Linked DNA regions of Homo sapiens: region 1 is linked to region 2. Evidence: promoter capture Hi-C in 16 types of primary human blood cells and fetal thymus (Javierre and others, 2016). All regions are on one chromosome and are shown on one strand. The core of a region is centred on a gene start or on the middle of the fragment in contact, and the rest is flanking DNA. Distances in the headings are between cores, read along the strand shown. Region 1 overlaps NSD1 (nuclear receptor binding SET domain protein 1). Region 2 holds the start of NSD1 (nuclear receptor binding SET domain protein 1).

Region 1 (4,293 bases), core at 759-3,258, 140 kb before region 2:
TTCTTATCAACTGATCTAACCTGTTATTAATCCAAAAATAAGTTTTGTACTTATCACATCGTAAACCAAAAGCAAACCAAAACAAATCCCACATGGTTAAGAACAAAGACATGGATATGTAATTCTAAGTAAATCTCACTATAGATCAGGAGTTAAGTAACTTTTTCTGTAAAGGGTCAGAAAGTAAACACTTCAGGCTTTGCAGGCCATAGATCTCCACATGTAGCTCGACTCTGCCACTGTAATATAAAAGCAGCCATATGTAATATGTAAATGAAGAAGCATGCCTGTATTCCAATAAAATTTTCTGGATACTGATTGAAAGTTGAATTTCATATCATCTTTATGTGTCACAAAATCTCTTTTTTGCCAATCACTAAAAAATACAAAAACAACCTGTAGTTCAAGAGTATTACAAGAATAGGCAGTAGACCACATTTGCCCATGAACCATAGTTTGCCAATGCCTGCTCTAGATCCTTTTCCTGGAAATGTTTATTAAAAAAAAAAAAAAAAATGGAGTAAAGAAGTTGGCCTCTAAGTTCTTGATGAGATCACTCACAGGAAACTGCTCTCTCAGTAGCTCAATATGGTTAATATGTTAACTCTAAAATGCCTACCTTGCTGTTATCTGACCCTCAGGACTATGTGAATAGAATTATTTTCCATTTCTGAGGCCTAACGACTATGTTCCAAGAATATATTTTCACATACATTGTGAGACTCATTTAGATCCAATTATAGGTTTTGAAATTCTTAATTTCAGAAGTTGTAATCATTTGTAAGGATTAACAGTTTATGACTTTTTTCGTTTTGTTCTTTTTTTAATCTAATCTTGGTATGGATATTTTATGACATTTAAAGTAACAATTTAAAGGCCAGGAGTGGCAGCTCATGCCTATAATCCCAGTAATTTGGGAGGCCAACGTGGGAAGACAACCTGAGGCCAGGAGATCGGCCTAGGCAACATAGTGAAATCATCATCTCTAATAAAGGGGGGGAGAAAAAAGCAAAAAAAACTGGGCCTGGCACAGTGGCTCACCGTGGGAGGCTCAACTTTGGGAGACCGAGGCGGGCAGATCACCTGAGGTCAGGAGTTCAAGACCAGCCTGGCTAACATGGTGAAACCCCATCTCTACTAAAAACACAAAAATTAGCCAGGTGTGGTGGCACAATGCCTGTAGTCCCAGCTACTCAGGAGGCTGAGGCAGGAGAGTGGGCTGAATCCAGGAGATGGAGGTTGCAGTGAGCTGAGACCACGCCACTGCACCCCAGCCTGGGCAACAGAGTGAGACTCTGTCTCAGGGGGAAAAAAAAAAAAAGACTTCAGAAGCAGTGTTTATGACTTTTATCCCTTTTTAGAGGTCTTCCAAAGTTCAAAAAGAAAATATACTTATTTAAAAGAATAAAATTCAGGCCAAGTGTCGTAGCTCACGCCTGTAATCCCAGTTCTTTGGGAGGTTGAGGTGGGTGGATTGCTTTGAGCTGAGGAGTTCAGGACCAGCCTGGGCAACATGGTGAAACCCCAACTCTACAAAAAATACCAAAATTAGCCAGGCGTTGGTGGCTCATGTCTGTAATCCCAGCTACTTAGGAGACTGAGGCAGGAGGCAGGAGAATCACTTGCGCCCACGAAGCGGAGGTTGCAGTGAGCCAAAATTGCAGCAATGCACTCTAGCCTGGGTCACAGAGGGAGACCCTGTCTCAAAGGAACAAACAAAGAACAAAACTGATTCTGTCTTGTAAATACCATGTAAGTCCATCAGACTAAATCTAAGACACGGTATGGAATTTTAGTGTTCTTACTTTTCCTCTATCTTGTAACAACTTACTAATTCATCATTACACATTATTACTAACTCATCAATAATTCACAACTATGCTAAAGAAGACAGAAATAATAAGAAAAGGGAGGCCGGGCGCAGTGGCTCACGCCTGTAATCCCAGCACTTTGGGAGGCTAAGGCAGGCCGATCACGAGGTCAGGAGATCGAGACCATCCTGGCTAACATGGTGAAACCCCATCTCTACTAAAAATACAAAAAATTAGCCCGGTGTGGTGGCGGGCGCCTGTAGTCCCAGCTACTCGGGAGGCTGAGGCAGGAGAATGGCTTGAACCCGGGAGGCAGAGCTTGCAGTGAGCCAAGATCGTGCCACTGCACTCCATCCTGGGCGACTCCATCTCAAAAAAAAAAAAAAAAAAAAAAAAAAGACAAGGGAAGCACAATGGAATCACATATAAGCACGATGAAATACTGAAACTGTCACACTTTAGATTTCTTACGGCATTACCCAAAGTACTGCATTGTCGTTTAAAAAAAGTATAAAAGACCGTCTACTACACCTGAGGAAAGGAGTTTAAAAATAAAAAAGCAAGTATAAAACACTGGAGACACGATCTTGAAGGTCTGATTTCGGTAGGGTTATCAGATTTAGCAAATAAAAATCCAAGTCATCTAGTTCAATCTGAATTTCTGACAAACAACGAAAGTTTTTCAGTTTAACTATGCTCGATCCAATATTTGAGACAAACTTAAACATACTAGATTCTCAAGATGGTGGTCAAATTAGTCTCCAAGTAGCATCTCAGATTATCAGTCTTTGGAAACACACAGCCGGGCGTGGTGGCTCATGCCTGTAATCCCAGCACTTTGGGAGGCTGTGGCGGGTGAATCACTTGAGGTCAGGAGTTCGAGACCAGCCTGGCCAACACGGCGAAACCCCGTCTCTACTAAAAATACAAAAATTAGCCGCATATAGTGGTGTGCGCCTGTAATCCCAGCTACTCGGGAGGCTGCGGCAGAAGACTTGCTTGAACCTGGGAGATGGATGTTGCAGTGAGCCAAGATTGCACCACTGCACTCCAGCCTAGGAGACAGGGGGAGACTCCATCTCAAAAACAAACAAACAAAAAAACAACACACACACACACACACACACACACACACAAAGGATAAGTGAACAAATAATGCATTTCTAAGAACAAAAAAGAAATAGGGTATTCTCATCCAGGAACAATGCCATCAAAGATGTTTTACAAGAACAACCTGGGTAATCTCCTTTTCTCAACAGGCCTAACAATATTCTTTCATGTTTTATGATATTTGAGCATCGCAACTAACTTATCTGATAAAAAGAGGTTTGTAAAAAGGATTTAGTAAATATTAGGTTGGTGCAAAAGTAATTGAGGTTTGCCATTAAAAGTAATGATAAAACTGCAATTATTTTAGCAACAACATAACACTAAAATTTCTAATACATTTGTTCTCCACTGTCTCTTTATTTTTATGTCTGTCAATTATTCATATAAATGACATAAAAATGTTTAAAATACAAAGGCTCCACTGGACCCAGATGATAATGGTGATGACTATTTCACTAGGTAGGTTAAAGGTTAGGTCCACCTAAAATCAATTCTCCTGACACTGGGAATCCTGGCAATGCGCTAGGAATGGTGTTCTGGTACTTGTTTCTTTTTTTCTTCTTTTTTTTGGAGACGGAGTCTTACTCTGTCGCCCAGGCTTGAGTGTAGTGGCACGATCTCGGCTCACTGCAACCTCTGCCTCCCGGGTTCAAGCAATTCTCCAGCCTCAGCCTCCCAAGTAGCTGGAATTACAGGCACCTGCCTGGCCAGGCTGGTCTCAAACTCCTGACTTCAGGTGATCCGCCCGCCTCGGCCTCCCAAAGTGCTGGGATTACAAGCGTGAGCCACCGTGCCCGGCTATTTCTGATCTTCTTTTAAGCTCATACCTCTACCTAAAACGAACTATGCTTGTGCTTCCGTTCTTGTCATGAACAGAGTGGGAAGAGCCAGCTATTCCATTTCTCTTCTAGAGAAGGTCCCCCAAGATTTTCTCCTCACCTTTATATGTTTATAAGGTGGTGGCTTCTTGTCATTCTTTCGGTCTTCCTGCAGCTGTCTTAGCTCTTTTTGGGCCTTTAATTCCTCAAACCTTGCTGCAGCTTCCTGAAGAGCTATGAAAACAGACAGCACAAGTCACTTCAAAATCTCTGGGTGGAATTACTTATTTATTCACTTATTTTTTACTTTTTCCCCTTTAAGTTGGAGAAACTCCATGTTTTACACAAAAATCGACCAATGCTATATGAAAAAGAAAACACATAACAGCTATTTTCAAACAGGTAATGTAGTCCAAAGGGTATTCAGACATAGTATTAAGACAAAACATAATCCAGAACTAAATGGCACAATACAGACTATCACCCTTTAGATCACTGGCATCCATCCATCTGAATACGAGAACTTTTTTGCTTATCTGTGGTGGCGGATATCA
Region 2 (4,187 bases), core at 1,273-3,772:
ACCTGAACTCAATCAAATGCCTTTAAAAGCATTAGCCTACTCTCAATGAAGAGTTATTTGGAAAAAGCTTAAAACAACCAAATTCATACAACAGAGATAAATTTAAAAATCAAAGTAAAATTTTGCCCAAAGCTTATGATTAGCAATAGGATTTCAGCTGTGAACTGATAAGCAACCAAAAACAAATTTGTTACAAGTTTCCCTTTAAGTGGCCTGTATATATACATATATGTATATATTTAAGTTGTACCAAAAACTGCTTACAAATGGCAATTCCTGTGAAGTAGATGATGATGAAGTTCCAGGTAATTCTAGCATGTTTCCTAATGTACTGGTACTGGAATCTGGATCATCCTGAAAAGATAAATTTATTGAGTTTAATTGCTCTTCTATTGTAATGTTTGTGTCTCCTAGTGAAAAGGGGGCTGGGAGAAGGGCTGCTTTTTCATTGCTGCCGTCCACTTCATTTCTTTGCTTATTTTTCTGTGTTTCAGTCTGAGGAGCTAATGGCAAGAATGGCGATTTGACTGCACCGTGTCTACTCTCTGGTGTGCTGTCTTGTTCACTTCCCATGGCCACTTTTACACCATTCTCTGATTTAGTCTCATAATTGCAGGTGGCATTGGTCTGAGTTTCCTCAAAGATCTCCTCTATACTCTCATCCTCTGTGACTGGCTGTTCTGGGTCCATTTCAGAATCTACATCTGCATCGTCCACACAAGTAAAATTCTCAAAGTGCAGAAAGCCATTCTTGATAGTCTTTGTTACTTTTACCTGGAGTTCAGGGGAGTTATTACAAGAGGGTTCCTGTTTCATAGCAAGTGCTGTAGGACCACCAGGACTCAAGGAAGTGCAAACAATTGGCGTCTGAGCTCTTGAATCACTTTTTTCAGGGTCTTGAAAGGATTCTGATCCATCAGCAGACCCATTTAAATACTCTACATTGATCATGGAGGCCAAATCCTGTAGTCTCCGCAGTGGAATGTAACAAGATGGAGAATCTTGTCCATAAGCATTTTGGGATGTTCCACTGACAGTCGATAACTGCATAGTACACCCATTAAGTGGCTCAGAAAAATTGGATTGACCATTACCGAAAGGGCTGTCCTTGTCTTCAGGGGCATCTAAATTCACTGGATTGGAAAAGGGCAGCAGACAATTTCTTCTGGGTAGTTCACAGGTCTGATCCATCCTGGGCCGGCATCAACCTGGAATCCAAAAGCACAGCAATTAATCTGAGTTAATAGGCCATCTGACTCGACTCTTTAAAATGGCAGCCACTTCAAGGCCTAGTGGCCTCTATGCCTTTCTGCTGCACTTCCATGGGCAGAAAAAGTTCCCCCGACTGGAGATGAAAAAATGGCCTCGATGAGCCTCTGAAAACTCCATTTTCCCGAAGCTGGGCCGATCCTGCTACATAGAAACAGCCCGTCTCTTTTTCCTCCTCTGTAGACTGGTGGACACTTGGGATGAACTAAAATTAAAACCCCTCTGCCCGTCAAAATTCCCAATTCTCAAACAGGACTAGTCCTCCCCCTCCCTCGCCAGGGGTCGAGCAGCTGGATCTCTCAAAAGCAAAAGGCTGCGGGGTCCGAGGGGGGCTCCTGGACCCTGCACAAAAAGGTACCCCCCCCTTCCTGGCTCGCTAGGGCGCAGCGGTCACAATAGCGCTGCACCCTGCGCCCAGCCAGCGCCGGAGCCTTTGCAGCGGCGGTGCGCAGGCCGCAGGCGAGCCGGCCGAGGCGGCTGCACCCCAGAGCTCGCCTTCCTGAATGCAGGCCTGCTGGATCCGCAGCTGCAGGGCGAAGAGGCCTGGACCCGGCAGAGGGAGAAACCGAGGCGGCCAGCGAAGCCCAGTCAGGGTAGCAGCAGCTGCTACAGCTCGAAAAACATGGCTGCTGCCGACGCCGCCGCCGCCTGCCCGGGCCGCGCTCCTTCCCGCAGCCGCGGCAGCACCTCCCAGCCGAGCCGATCGCTCTCATCAATATTCAGCAGCAAGCAAAGTTTGCTGCGGGAGGGCAGCCGGCCCCGCGCCCCGCAGCCTGCTACCTGAGGGGAGGCGGAGGCCGAGGTGTTCGCAGGCGGCCGGCGGGGCACGGGCCGCGCCGGGAGGAAGTTCGCGGCAGCCCGGCCAGCTAGGCCTGAGCCCGGCTGGTAGTGATGGAGGAGGGGGAGGGGGAGGAGGCCGGCGGCTGCAGCGCCGCCGGCCACCAACCCCGCATCGCGCCTGGCCCTCCCCCGAGCCCCTCACCTTACGGCCACCACCATCTTCCCCGCCCGGCCACCCTCCTCCCTCCCTTCTCCTCGCGCCTGCCCGCCGCCCACCCCAGCGCACTAGTTACCGTGCCCCGCGCCCCCTCCCGGGCCAGCTGGGGGGAGGGGGTGACCCTCATTACACTGGGGTGCGAGCGGAGCGGTGGGGAGAGAGCGGGGCCGCTCGCCGCACCCCCCTCCCCCCGCGTCTCTCTTCAGGGGAGAAGGCAGCGAGCGCGACCTGCCCCGGCCTATTCCGCCGCCGCCTCCTCCTCCTCACACCCCCACCGCGCGCGCCCCCGCGGCCGCGCGTGCGACCGAGCGCCTCGCGCCGGCCCGCGTGCGGCTGGGCCCCGAGTGCGCGCGCACCCCTTCCCCCACCGAGCGCGCGCGTTCCCTTCTCTCACTCTTCGGGGTTCAGGGCGGGTGAAGTCGGGCTTGTGAGAGCGCCGCCCAATCAGCGGAGCTGCCGCTGCCGCCCCCTCCCCTCCCCCTGCGCGCCCGCTCGCGGCCGGGGCCTACGGGCCGGCCCGGCTGCCCGGGCGGGGCCTGAGGCGGGCTCCCCAGGGGCCTCGCGCGCCTCCTTGGAGTGTCGGGGCCTGCGGGCGTCGTGGGTGGCATTCCGATCCCCTCACCTACCTCGGGGCACGGCGCTGGCCTCGGGCCGCACACGGCTCCCGCACCCTACGCGTCTCGAACCCCAACCCAGGCGGCACCTGGCGCGGCTGAGGCCTGTCCGATCGTCCCGCCAGCCCTGCTCGGGCCCGCGTCAGTCCCGGCCTCCATCTTAGGTTACAGCCCAGGCTCCCCATCCACTGGGCACCTGCCCTCAGCCCGCTGGGTTCGGCCCGAGGCCAAGGCAACCCCCCTCCTGCCGCAGGGCTCACCTGGGGGCTTGGGCTGGGGTCTTCGAGGCCTCAGGCCCCGAGCAGACGCGGCCGCAGGCGAACCCCCTACCCGGCCGCACCCCAAACCCACACCACCACCACCACCACCACCACAGACCAAGCTGAGCAGGAAACAAAATGGAGGCAGCAGCTCGGGTCTGCCTCCCTGAGCCAAGCCTGTGCAGCCCCAGGGCTCCCTCCTGTCTCAGGCTCGACGCCCGCGAGGCAGAGGCTGGATCGTCCCGGGTGCCGCGGGCAGCCGCCCTACAGCAGCGCAGACGGGCCGGGGACTCGGCCCTGCGGTGCCCACAGCCCCTCACCCACCACCCCTTCCCTTCCCCCTCCCCCCATCCCTCTCCCTCCCCTTGCCGGGCCGTGCGGGGTGAGCGGCTCTGGGGAGCCGGGTCGGGTTACCCGCCCCGGCACTGCTCGCCCGGCCGTGGCCTCCGCGGGGGAACGAAGCCAGGCGACCCCAGCGCTGAGCCCACCCCCGGCACCGAGCCGGGCTGCAGCCTGACAGCGCGTCCGCACCTCGGCCTGCAGCCGTGCGGCCCCCGCCCAGGGAGGCCGAGTCCCCAGCCCGGGCCCAGCCGGGACGAAGCTCCCTCACCACCCCCGAGCCCAGGGGTCCTCGCAGCCTCGGGCGGGGCGAGGGGAACGCCGGGGGAGGGGGTCCTCTAGTCCCTGCACCGCCTCCCGCGCCTAGTCAAGGTCTGGGCCTGGCACGGGGGCTCGGGCAGCGGGCGCCGGCCGGCGTGGGTATGTGCGTGCGCGCCGGGCTGGGGGCCGGGACGGGACGGGCCGCGCCTCGCACCGCGGACGCTGCAGTTCTCGGCACCCAGGCAGATGGCCCTCTCGTGCCACCGCCGCCCAGAGCGGGCCGCCTGCTCCGCAGCCCGGTTCCCCGGGGAGTGCGCGCCTCGCCCCTGAGGGCCGGGCATCTGGACCCCAGCGGAGCTGCGCCGGGACACGGGACCGCCCGGCTGGCCGGGACAAGCCCGCTGGCGCAGCCCTCGGCCTGGGGCCTCACGGCCTGCATCCTGCACC

Evidence for each region. Contacts are between HindIII fragments. The CHiCAGO score rates a contact against its expected background, and 5 or more counts as called.
Region 1: a fragment that was not itself captured here is called in contact with the fragment with the promoter of NSD1 in region 2 in 3 of 17 cell types (erythroblasts, megakaryocytes and endothelial precursors); the score reaches 7.3 in erythroblasts.

Annotation. Positions count from the first base shown.
Region 1 is chr5:177,273,352-177,277,644 of GRCh38, reverse strand. It overlaps NSD1 (nuclear receptor binding SET domain protein 1), which reads right to left. Exons shown (of 23, transcript NM_022455.5): 17 at 3,861-3,973. Among named protein-coding and RNA genes, the nearest start is that of RAB24, 28 kb to the left of the region's middle. The HindIII fragment of the contact is 5,273 bases long and covers 1-4,293 here.
Region 2 is chr5:177,132,108-177,136,294 of GRCh38, reverse strand. NSD1 (nuclear receptor binding SET domain protein 1) reads right to left here and starts at 2,522. Exons shown (of 23, transcript NM_022455.5): 1 at 2,343-2,522; 2 at 265-1,208. The coding sequence starts at 1,191. RefSeq lists enhancers at 1,320-1,873, 1,874-2,425, 2,426-2,979, 3,193-3,487, 2,980-3,531 and silencers at 1,887-2,186, 2,247-2,406, 2,487-3,156. The HindIII fragment of the contact is 6,719 bases long and covers 135-4,187 here.